2 separate regions of the Homo sapiens genome follow, and region 1 is linked to region 2. The links are contacts of gene promoters, found by promoter capture Hi-C in blood cells and fetal thymus (Javierre and others, 2016). All regions are on one chromosome and are shown on one strand. The core of a region is centred on a gene start or on the middle of the fragment in contact, and the rest is flanking DNA. Distances in the headings are between cores, read along the strand shown. Region 1 overlaps SNAP47 (synaptosome associated protein 47). Region 2 holds the start of WNT9A (Wnt family member 9A).

Region 1 (3,967 bases), core at 869-3,368, 190 kb after region 2:
GCGTAGGGAGCTGAATGGAGGAGACAGCAGCTTGTGTGCTCCATCTCCCACTCAACCAATACGCACGCGCAGGTGGGGGCTGAGCGGCATCCTCTGATAGGCTCCAGGCCAGCTGATGCAGTACCCCCAGGCTCCCCAGTCAGCCCAACCCGAGCCCGCGGTGCCACAGCAGGCTCCTGGGTGCTTCAGCTCCAGTGGGAACTTCCCTGCCTCAAAAGACGCCTGGCACTAACGAACTGCAGAGACAACCTCAGCCACCCCAATGCTCTGGTCCTTTACTAACTGCCCACTGCATCCGCCTGCCTCCTGCCCTGTCCTGCTGCTGGTGCTGCTGTGCAGACAGACACACGGCCCGGGGAAGCAGAGGTACAGGCAAGGCTGTCATCAGGGAGCTGGAAGCCCAGGCAGGCCTTACCCCCAAGACAGGCAGTGAGTGACAAAGAAAAATCTCAGTGATCAAACAGCCTTCAAATACGCTGTGCACAGCAGGGTAGAGGCTCACGCCTGAAATCCCAGCACTCTGGGAGGCTGAGGTGAGAGGATCACTTGAGCCCAGGAGTTCAAGACCAGCCTAGGCAACACGGCAAGACCCCATAATTAAAAAAAAAAAAAATTAGCTGGGCATGGTGATATGTGCCTATAGTCCCAGCTACTTGAGAGGCCAAGGCAGGAGGATGTCTTGGGCCCAGGAGATTGAAGTTACAGTGAGCTATGATTGCACCTCTGCACTCCAGCCTGGATGACAGGGCAAGGCCCTGTCTCTAAAAGAAAAAAATAAATAAAAAGAAAAAGAAAATACTGTGCATGTCCCTTGGTAGGATGTGTGGGAAGGAAACCTCACCCTGTGGCCTTCCTCCCAAACCACAGCCCAGGCCGACTGCAAGAAAATCTGAGACAGAGGCTGCTGTGCAAGCCCTGGCCCAGCCTCCAGAAGGCTGTCAGAAGCCACAGGGCCCAGAGACATGTGAGGAGGGTGATTGTGCGGTCCTGGGTGCTCCTCAACGCAAGGACGAGTGTCTAGAATAAAATAAAACGTGCACTTGGCACGCAGCCCTGCAGAGGTCTCTGGAAAGGCTCCCCGCCCCGGGTGTCCCTCCCTGACAAGCGCCCATCCGGTGTCGCGAGGCTGCCACCCTGTGGCCACACGTGCACCAGCGCTCGTCCCAGAGGCAGGGATTTCTGAGACATCCGTCATGGTTTCCACCTCCAGGGAGCCCACAGTTTCCAGCTGAGAGCAGTAAACACAGGGAAGCTGGCACAGAGTCCCTGTGCCTACGCATGGACAACAGCAGCAGGCGGCAGGCAGAGGCAAGGCCTCAGAGCCACAAGTGCCCCACAGACTACTGAGCTCCCATCAAACGGGGCGCCGCCTTCTTGCTAACATAGCACCAGGCAGGGCACCACACGCTCCAACCCCTGCATGGAGCCTCTTCAAGAACACCCTCTGGAGGCACAGCTGCCCCCATGAGACCAGCACTTACCTGGACAGGCCAGGTTGCCCATGGGGGTGAAAGTGAGCACGGAAAGGTGGCACAACAGTCCCCCACAGGAGCAACAGTCCATCTCACACATGCAGCAGGTCCCTGTGGGACTGTGTGCTGTGTGTGCCACATGGCAAGATGGCTGCCCCAGGTACTCAAAACACCACGGGCCGGGTGCAGCTGTGCAAGTGAAAAGACGGTGCTCGCTGTGGCTACAACCCACACTCAGGTGACCTGAACTAAGGGGGCCCTCCTAGCCGAGCAGGGAGGGTGACGCCATCAGTCCTGAATCCTGAATGCACGTTGAGGCCCCCAGAAAAGGTGATAGCCCTCTGACCTCAAACGGCACAGATTGCAGGAACCCACTTACAAACACCAGCCTGCGGAACACAGGAGTGCTCGCCACCACGGTGCAGCCAGGTCGGCAACATGGCAGGGCCACTAAACACACTGAGTGCTTCTCTACTGGGACCCTGGAGAGCAGTCCTGAACTCCACAGAATGTCACAAACTTCCTGCCTGACGCCACACATACCCAGGGACCCCTCTTCAGTCCCCACACCACCAGTCCACAGCACGTCACATACCTCCTCCCTGAAGCCACGTGCAGGAGTACGCCTGTACCATTTACCTTGAATGTGGGTGAAGACCTCTGCTTCCTATGCTTCTGTAGCCTGTCTCCCACTAGGACACTCGGGTTCAGGCCTGCACTTTAGTGACAGCAGCTCATGGTGACCTTTGATCTCATCTTGATCAATGGATTTCATTACATTTCACACCACATGCTCCATTCCATAGGGGTCAATGCCTCTCTTTGCAACCCCTGACTTTAAGACATATACAGAAAGGTGGTAGGTTTTCTGTGATTCAACTACGTGCTGCATATCTAAGGTGTGCACCTTTCATTTTTAGGGTGTGTATTCAGCCCTGGGGCTCATGGGACTCAATCTATTATTATGTGTATTTCTTTCCGAAACTTGAAGCCATCTGGAATAGCAAGCAAAACATTTTCATGTTAGAGAAACAGGTTATAGGAACTGAAATCTTTCTCTTAAGAGAAAAATTAGAGAAACCGAAAGGGTAGCAAATATCTCTTACTTTTAACAGACACCTGGCATTTAAAATCCTGAAGAATACAGCTTTACATGCTGTACGTATAGACACGCATTATAGTGTGGACGTACATGTCACATACATGCACAATACATAGGCATTGATACACATGTGTACATATGTATACATGCATGCGTATTAGCTATAATGCTAATATTAGAAAATGGAGTCTTTTATGACATTCAGATTTCTTAATCAGAGCTCGAAGACAAACTGCAGGGGAAAATCGGTGGATTTTACCATGGCAAGATAAAAGATTTCTGTAAGGGAGGAAGAGACTCTAGAGGAAGTGGCTATAGCCTCTAAAGCCAGCCAAGGCTGATGGACTAGGATAGTAGGAAAGTCGTGCACATCTGTGGGGGAAGAAAGCACATGAGGAAAGAAGAAAACAGAACAGGCCATCCATAGAGCAAAACCTGCAGGGCCAAAACAAATACAACGCATCAGAGGCCCCACCTCCTAACCAAGGAAAGGGTAAAGGCAAGAATAACACCAAGAGGCCACCAGCCTCCCATCAGACGGGCAGGACCATGGCGGCTCCTAGCACATAAGCCTCGGTCCTGTGCTAGGGAGGAGGTAGGCCAAACGTGGTGGACGTGCCAAGACCCAGGGTGTCTGCCCCTCAGCCCGGCCCCCAGGACAGGCCAGCTGAGCATTCACAATCTACAATGGAGTCTGCGGGAAGGTACCATGGCCACTCCACACACATCTGAGAATGCCACAAACACACAGAACCACGCTGCACAGTTCTCCAACACACAGATCCCTAATAGCATGTTTGGGCGCCAGGCTAGGAAAACCTAGATTAAATGCCCAGGGAAACAAGAGTGGGCAAAGTAGGGGTGATGGGAATGGCCCCACCAGGGGAAGTGGAGATGGTGCCAGTAACAATCCTGAGGTGCTGGTTCCCACATCAAAATGAGGGGAGATGACAGAGACAACAGCAGGAGCTTCCTTTTGCTCTGATGCACTCATTCTGAAAGCCCTTTCTGTGTCGTAGCAGGTTCTGCATCACCATAACTGAGCACCTGAGACTGGGTAATTTACGAAGAACAGACCTTTAGTCAACTGACAGTTCTGTGGGCTGGGAAGTCCAAGGGCATGCCCTGGCTTCCACCAAGGGCTCTCGTGTTGTGGCAGAGACACTCAAGGGGGAAGCGGACACAGGCAAAGAGACAGAATCAGAGGGGCATCCTGCCTCCTAACAACCCACTCTTGGGAACTAATGCATTCCCAGAATTCATCCAGGCTTCCCAGAGGGAGCACTCACTCACTACCATGAGAACATCACTGAGCCACCCAGAGGGCAGAGTCCTTGTGACCAAACACCTCCCAGCCCTGCCACACTGGCGACCAAATTTCCACATGAGCTTT
Region 2 (4,410 bases), core at 81-2,580:
CGGGATTTCACAGCCTTCCGGGGGCATGTGCTCCGCCCCCCAGGTTCTGCGGTCACTGTGCCAGAATCAGTCCCTGCAGGCACAGAGGGCACTGCCTAGAGACCTGGCACCGCAGCCCAGGTCTCTGAGGCCCCTGCAGCACGTGGCTGGGCAGGCTCGCTGGCCCTGTGTCCTCAGCCTTGGCAGCCTAGCCCGTGTTGGAGGCACCATCCTGCACTGACCAGGGTCTGCAGGTGGCAGGCATGCCACCGCCAGCCTGGACCCCAAGCCCTGTTCTTGTGTCCCTTGTTGCATGGCACAGAGGCCCCATCCAGGGAACTTATAAGCCTTCTCCTGGATGCCACCCCCAGGTCTGTCTGGAATGTGTGCACCTGTATCCTAATGCCAGCTCTGGGTCCTCTGACACCATTCTGCTTCAGAAGCAGCTCCGAATCCGTATCGCAGAGGGGACGAGTCCCCGGGCTGTGACTGAGCGCTTCCAGCTGCCTGGGTGTGCACCTTCCATCCCAGGAGTCCTCTTTCTCCCCGTCCCGGCCAGGACACAGGCTCTGAGAAGGGCGTTGCCCGATGGCTGGTGTTTCATTGACTTAGCCGCTAGCTCCACTCCCACAATTTAAGAATGGGGAGACCATCAGGACCCCAAAAGGTAGAGCTACTCACCTCACAGCCCCAGCAGGCTACGTCGCTTCATTCCCAGGCCGAAAGCGGCCACAGTCCCTGCCAGAAAGGAGCGATTCTCTGGCCCCGCTCCTTGAGGGGGTCAGCATGCGCAAGAGGCGCAGGCATCACCGGCTGGCCCGACTCCTCCTCACCAAGCTTCCCCCGGAGCAGCCGCGCAGCGCCCAGCTCGGGGCAGACGGCTGGGTCCTCTGTGGAACCATCCCCGACCGTCCCGGCCTGGAGCCCCGCCGGCGGCTAGCCCGGCGGCCAACGCCTCCCCTCCCCTCCCCCTCAATCCCGCCCCGGGGGCCGCCCCAAGCTCCCACTGCAGCGCCCCCAACGCTCTACCCGCTTCCCGATGCCCGCCTCCGGCCCCCCAATGCCGTCCCGCCGTGGTCGCCCCGGGTTCTCGCACGCCCCGCCCTCGGTTCCCACCGCTCTCCGCCTCCCCTTCCTCCATCCCCGCCGGGCAGGGCGCGCCCGAGACCCGCGCCGGGAGCGGCGGCCGGGGCCCCGAGTGGCCGGGAGGGGCTGGCGGGCTGGCGCGCGCGGCTCGGGTTTCGGCCCGCCCCCGGCGCCGGCGTGATCCCCTCCCGGGCGCGGGGCGGGGCCGGGCCCAGCTGGCCGCGCTCCGGGCGCTATAAGAGGGCGGCGGCCGCGGCGCGCCCTGCGCGGAGCTGGGAGCGCGATGGTCGGCCGCCGAGGCGCGGCAAGATGCTGGATGGGTCCCCGCTGGCGCGCTGGCTGGCCGCGGCCTTCGGGCTGACGCTGCTGCTCGCCGCGCTGCGCCCTTCGGCCGCCTACTTCGGGTAGGTGCCTTCGGCGGCCGGCGCGCACTGGTGGGCGGGGGCGGCGGGGCCGGGGCGGGGTCGTCCGGAGTCCCCGAGGCACCCGGGGTGGCTGGGGCCGGGGCGCGGCGGGGCCGCCGGGTTGCCTGGCGCTGTTTGTTTGCGGCGCGCGCGTCGCTCCGTCCGCTGCGCGGCACGGCTAGAGAGGCGGGTGGACCCGTCCGGCTTGCGCCGGGCCGCGGTCCTCCGTGACCGCAGAGTCGTCGTCGTCGTAGTCGCCGCCGTGAGCAGGACTGCCTCGCGCTTAGGGACTGGGATCAGGTCCCGACTTCCTTGGGCCGCCGTGTCCTTGCCAAAAGGCTGGAGCCTGAGTCCTCAGCCCCTGGCCATCGCCCACCTAGCAGCTTCCCCCCCTTTCTCTTCTCGAGAAGTTAATTTAACAATAACAAAAATACGTACAAAATCCAGATGTTCCTCGCGCTGAGCCCCAAACGGAGAGAGAGAGAGAAAGAGAGAAATCCTCCAAGCTGGAGGAATTTATTTTTCTTGCGCTTTGCTTCTGACTCTGTGGCCCGGGCCCCGGCCCGCGGGAGCGCGTCCATGGAACCTGGCCGGGAGCGCAGGGCCCGGCCGGGGCGTCCCGCGGTGTCATTGCCCGTGCTCACGTGTCTCTGCAGCAGCGCTTTGCCGGGCTGTCGGCGCGTCTCTCTCTTCCTTTCTTTCCCTTCCTTCTTCCCTCCCCCTCTCTGAGGTCTGGGATGCCCAGTCCTGCGACCTTTACAGGGACCCTCGCTGCGCTTTGGGCGCGCTGAGGTGCAGGGTGGCGCCGTGCGAGGCAGCGCCCCGGGCCTCCCCGCCACCCTCCAGCCTCCTACCCCGAGCGCCGCCGCTGGGAGCCCTGGCTGGCCTTCGGATCCCAGCCCCCGACCTGGACGCCCTGGGCCGCTCCCTCAGCCGGGCCGCCGCCCTCCGCCGGTCACCTGTTCCCGGCCCTCTGGCCTGAGCGCCAGCGCGCGGCGGGCTGGCCGGCAGAGGGCCCCGTTGGTCCAGGAATCTGGCACCCGCCCGGGCAGGGAGAGGCCGCCTGGGCCGAGGAGCCCTGCAGGTGTATCCTGTTCTCAAAGAAAATAAAATATTTTCATGGGAAACTTTCCCTTTGTGTTTTTCTTTCTCTCCCTTTCTTCTCTCTGTTCCTTTCTTCTGGGTCGTCTTCCAGGGTCAGCCCGGTGTCTCAGTTCCCTGGGGCCCCCACCCGCAGCCCTCTCCTGGCTCCAACTGTGGGTACGGCCCTGGGCCTGGGCTGGCACGCCACTGCACGCCATCTGTGCAACCCGTAGCCTCACCCGGGAGGGCAGGAGGGAGGGCCACAGGTCCGCGGTGACTCACCGTGGCCTTGTCAGCCAGCTGTGCTTCCCTGCTCTCCGGCCCAGCGGAGGCTCTGCTTCTTGGGCTGGGGACACACCCTGGGCTTGTCCAGGCTGCAGCGGCTTTGTCCCTGCTGTGATCCGATTCCTGGAGACGGGGTGGCGCTGGGTCTTGGCCTCTCCTTCTCTGACCTATCTCTGGGCTTTGTGCCCTAGAGAAGGTCAAGGGGCTCTGCTGCTTTGTGTGCGTGTGTTTCAGCTCTCTTGCAGACAGTAAGTCCAGGCTGGTGCCAGGCGCATAGCAAGGACTTAAGTGCTGTTGTGGCTTCTCTGGCCAGGCCCCCTTGGCCCTGCTTCTTGGCTCCAAAGGACCCATCAAGGGAGAATTCCTGAGTCCTGTCTGAGGGCAGCTCTCCATGTAGCTGCCCTGTGGGAAGTCCAGAGGGCAAGTGTGCTGCCTTTGGGGACAGCTGGCATTGCAGAGGGCAGCTAGGACTCTGTTTGACTGATGGAGAATGAGCACCTTCCTGAACCAGGGGCTGGGGGGGCATCCTGGGTCAGGGCAGGCCAGGTTCCATCTGGGCTGCTGGAGGCCTTGGGCCCCCTGTAAGTCAGTTCCCAAGGTTGGGCTGGGGAGGGGAAGCAGGGCACAAAGGGCTCCAGGCTGGGTTGTGCGGAGGCCTCTCCTGCTGTGGCTCCTGGCCCAGCAAAGGCAGGGGGTGGCCCAGGGCATTAAAGGCCAGGCGGGGCTGGAGCTGGAGGGGGGCTGGGGTGGCCCTTCCCAGCTCCAGTCCAGGAAGCAGGGAGAAGGGGCTGGGATCTAGGGCCGTTTTCTCCCTTCCCCCTCTCAAAAGCTCTGCCTGGCACGGAGTCTCCCAGGCAGGAACACGGCTCCAGTTACAGCCCAGGAACCCGGAGAGGAGAGGCTGGCCTGGGGGAGGGTCACGTGGACCCACGGGAGCCCTCCCTGCCTGCTCCCTGAGCTGCAACCCAACCCTGGCTGGCGCCCGCTGCCCTCCTAGAGGCCTCTGGCCACCAGGCTGGACCCCCTGTGGGGAAGAGGCTCCCCTTGGCCTGGCCCTGCACCTTGGCCTGGCTAGCAGGTGGCATCTCCATCTGGTTCTCCCATGGCTATGTCCATGTGCCTCCTCGCTGGCCTGGCCCCAAGCCCTTCTAGACAGAGGGGTAAGCAGGGAGGCCAGCCCGAGGTCATAGGGAGGGCTTGGGGTACAGACTCAGACCCTCTCCCCAAGGTTATAGCAAGAGGGTGGGCCTGGTGGTGGTCTGAGGACATGGTTTGTCCTCCATTGGGAGGCCCCTCTCGCTTCGCCCTTGCTGGGTTGTGGTTTCAGCTGAGATGGTAGATCCGGATTAGACGCCGGGGCTGCTTCTCTCCTGGGCCCAGACCCTCTGGATGTGGAGTCAGGGCTGGGCCTGGGTCTGGGGGCTGTTCCTGCCCAGCGGGGCTTGGACCCCCACCCCTGGCTGCTAGGCTGCCTGGCTCCCTGGCACCTTGCAGCCCTTTCCTTAGGGGTCCTGGGCTGGCTCGGGATGAGGTCTGAGGCTTCCCACTGGAGTTCTTTTTTAAAGACCCTGAG

Evidence for each region. Contacts are between HindIII fragments. The CHiCAGO score rates a contact against its expected background, and 5 or more counts as called.
Region 1: a contact is called between a fragment that was not itself captured here and the fragment with the promoter of WNT9A in region 2, in 3 of 17 cell types (total CD8 T cells, naive CD4 T cells and M1 macrophages). The highest score is 6.6, in total CD8 T cells.

Annotation. Positions count from the first base shown.
Region 1 is chr1:227,759,770-227,763,736 of GRCh38, reverse strand. All of the region lies in intron 3 of SNAP47 (synaptosome associated protein 47), which reads right to left. Among named protein-coding and RNA genes, the nearest start is that of SNAP47, 26 kb to the right of the region's middle. RefSeq lists enhancers at 776-865, 1,186-1,335, 1,519-2,269. The HindIII fragment of the contact is 5,154 bases long and covers 1-3,967 here.
Region 2 is chr1:227,944,852-227,949,261 of GRCh38, reverse strand. It overlaps WNT9A (Wnt family member 9A), which reads left to right and starts at 1,330. Exons shown (of 4, transcript NM_003395.4): 1 at 1,330-1,469. The coding sequence starts at 1,375. LOC124904533 (a long non-coding RNA gene) reads right to left here and starts at 3,404. Exons shown (of 2, transcript XR_007066912.1): 1 at 2,835-3,404; 2 at 1,959-2,560. RefSeq lists silencers at 1,216-1,295, 2,399-2,508 and an enhancer at 1,376-1,425. The HindIII fragment of the contact is 8,120 bases long and covers 819-4,410 here.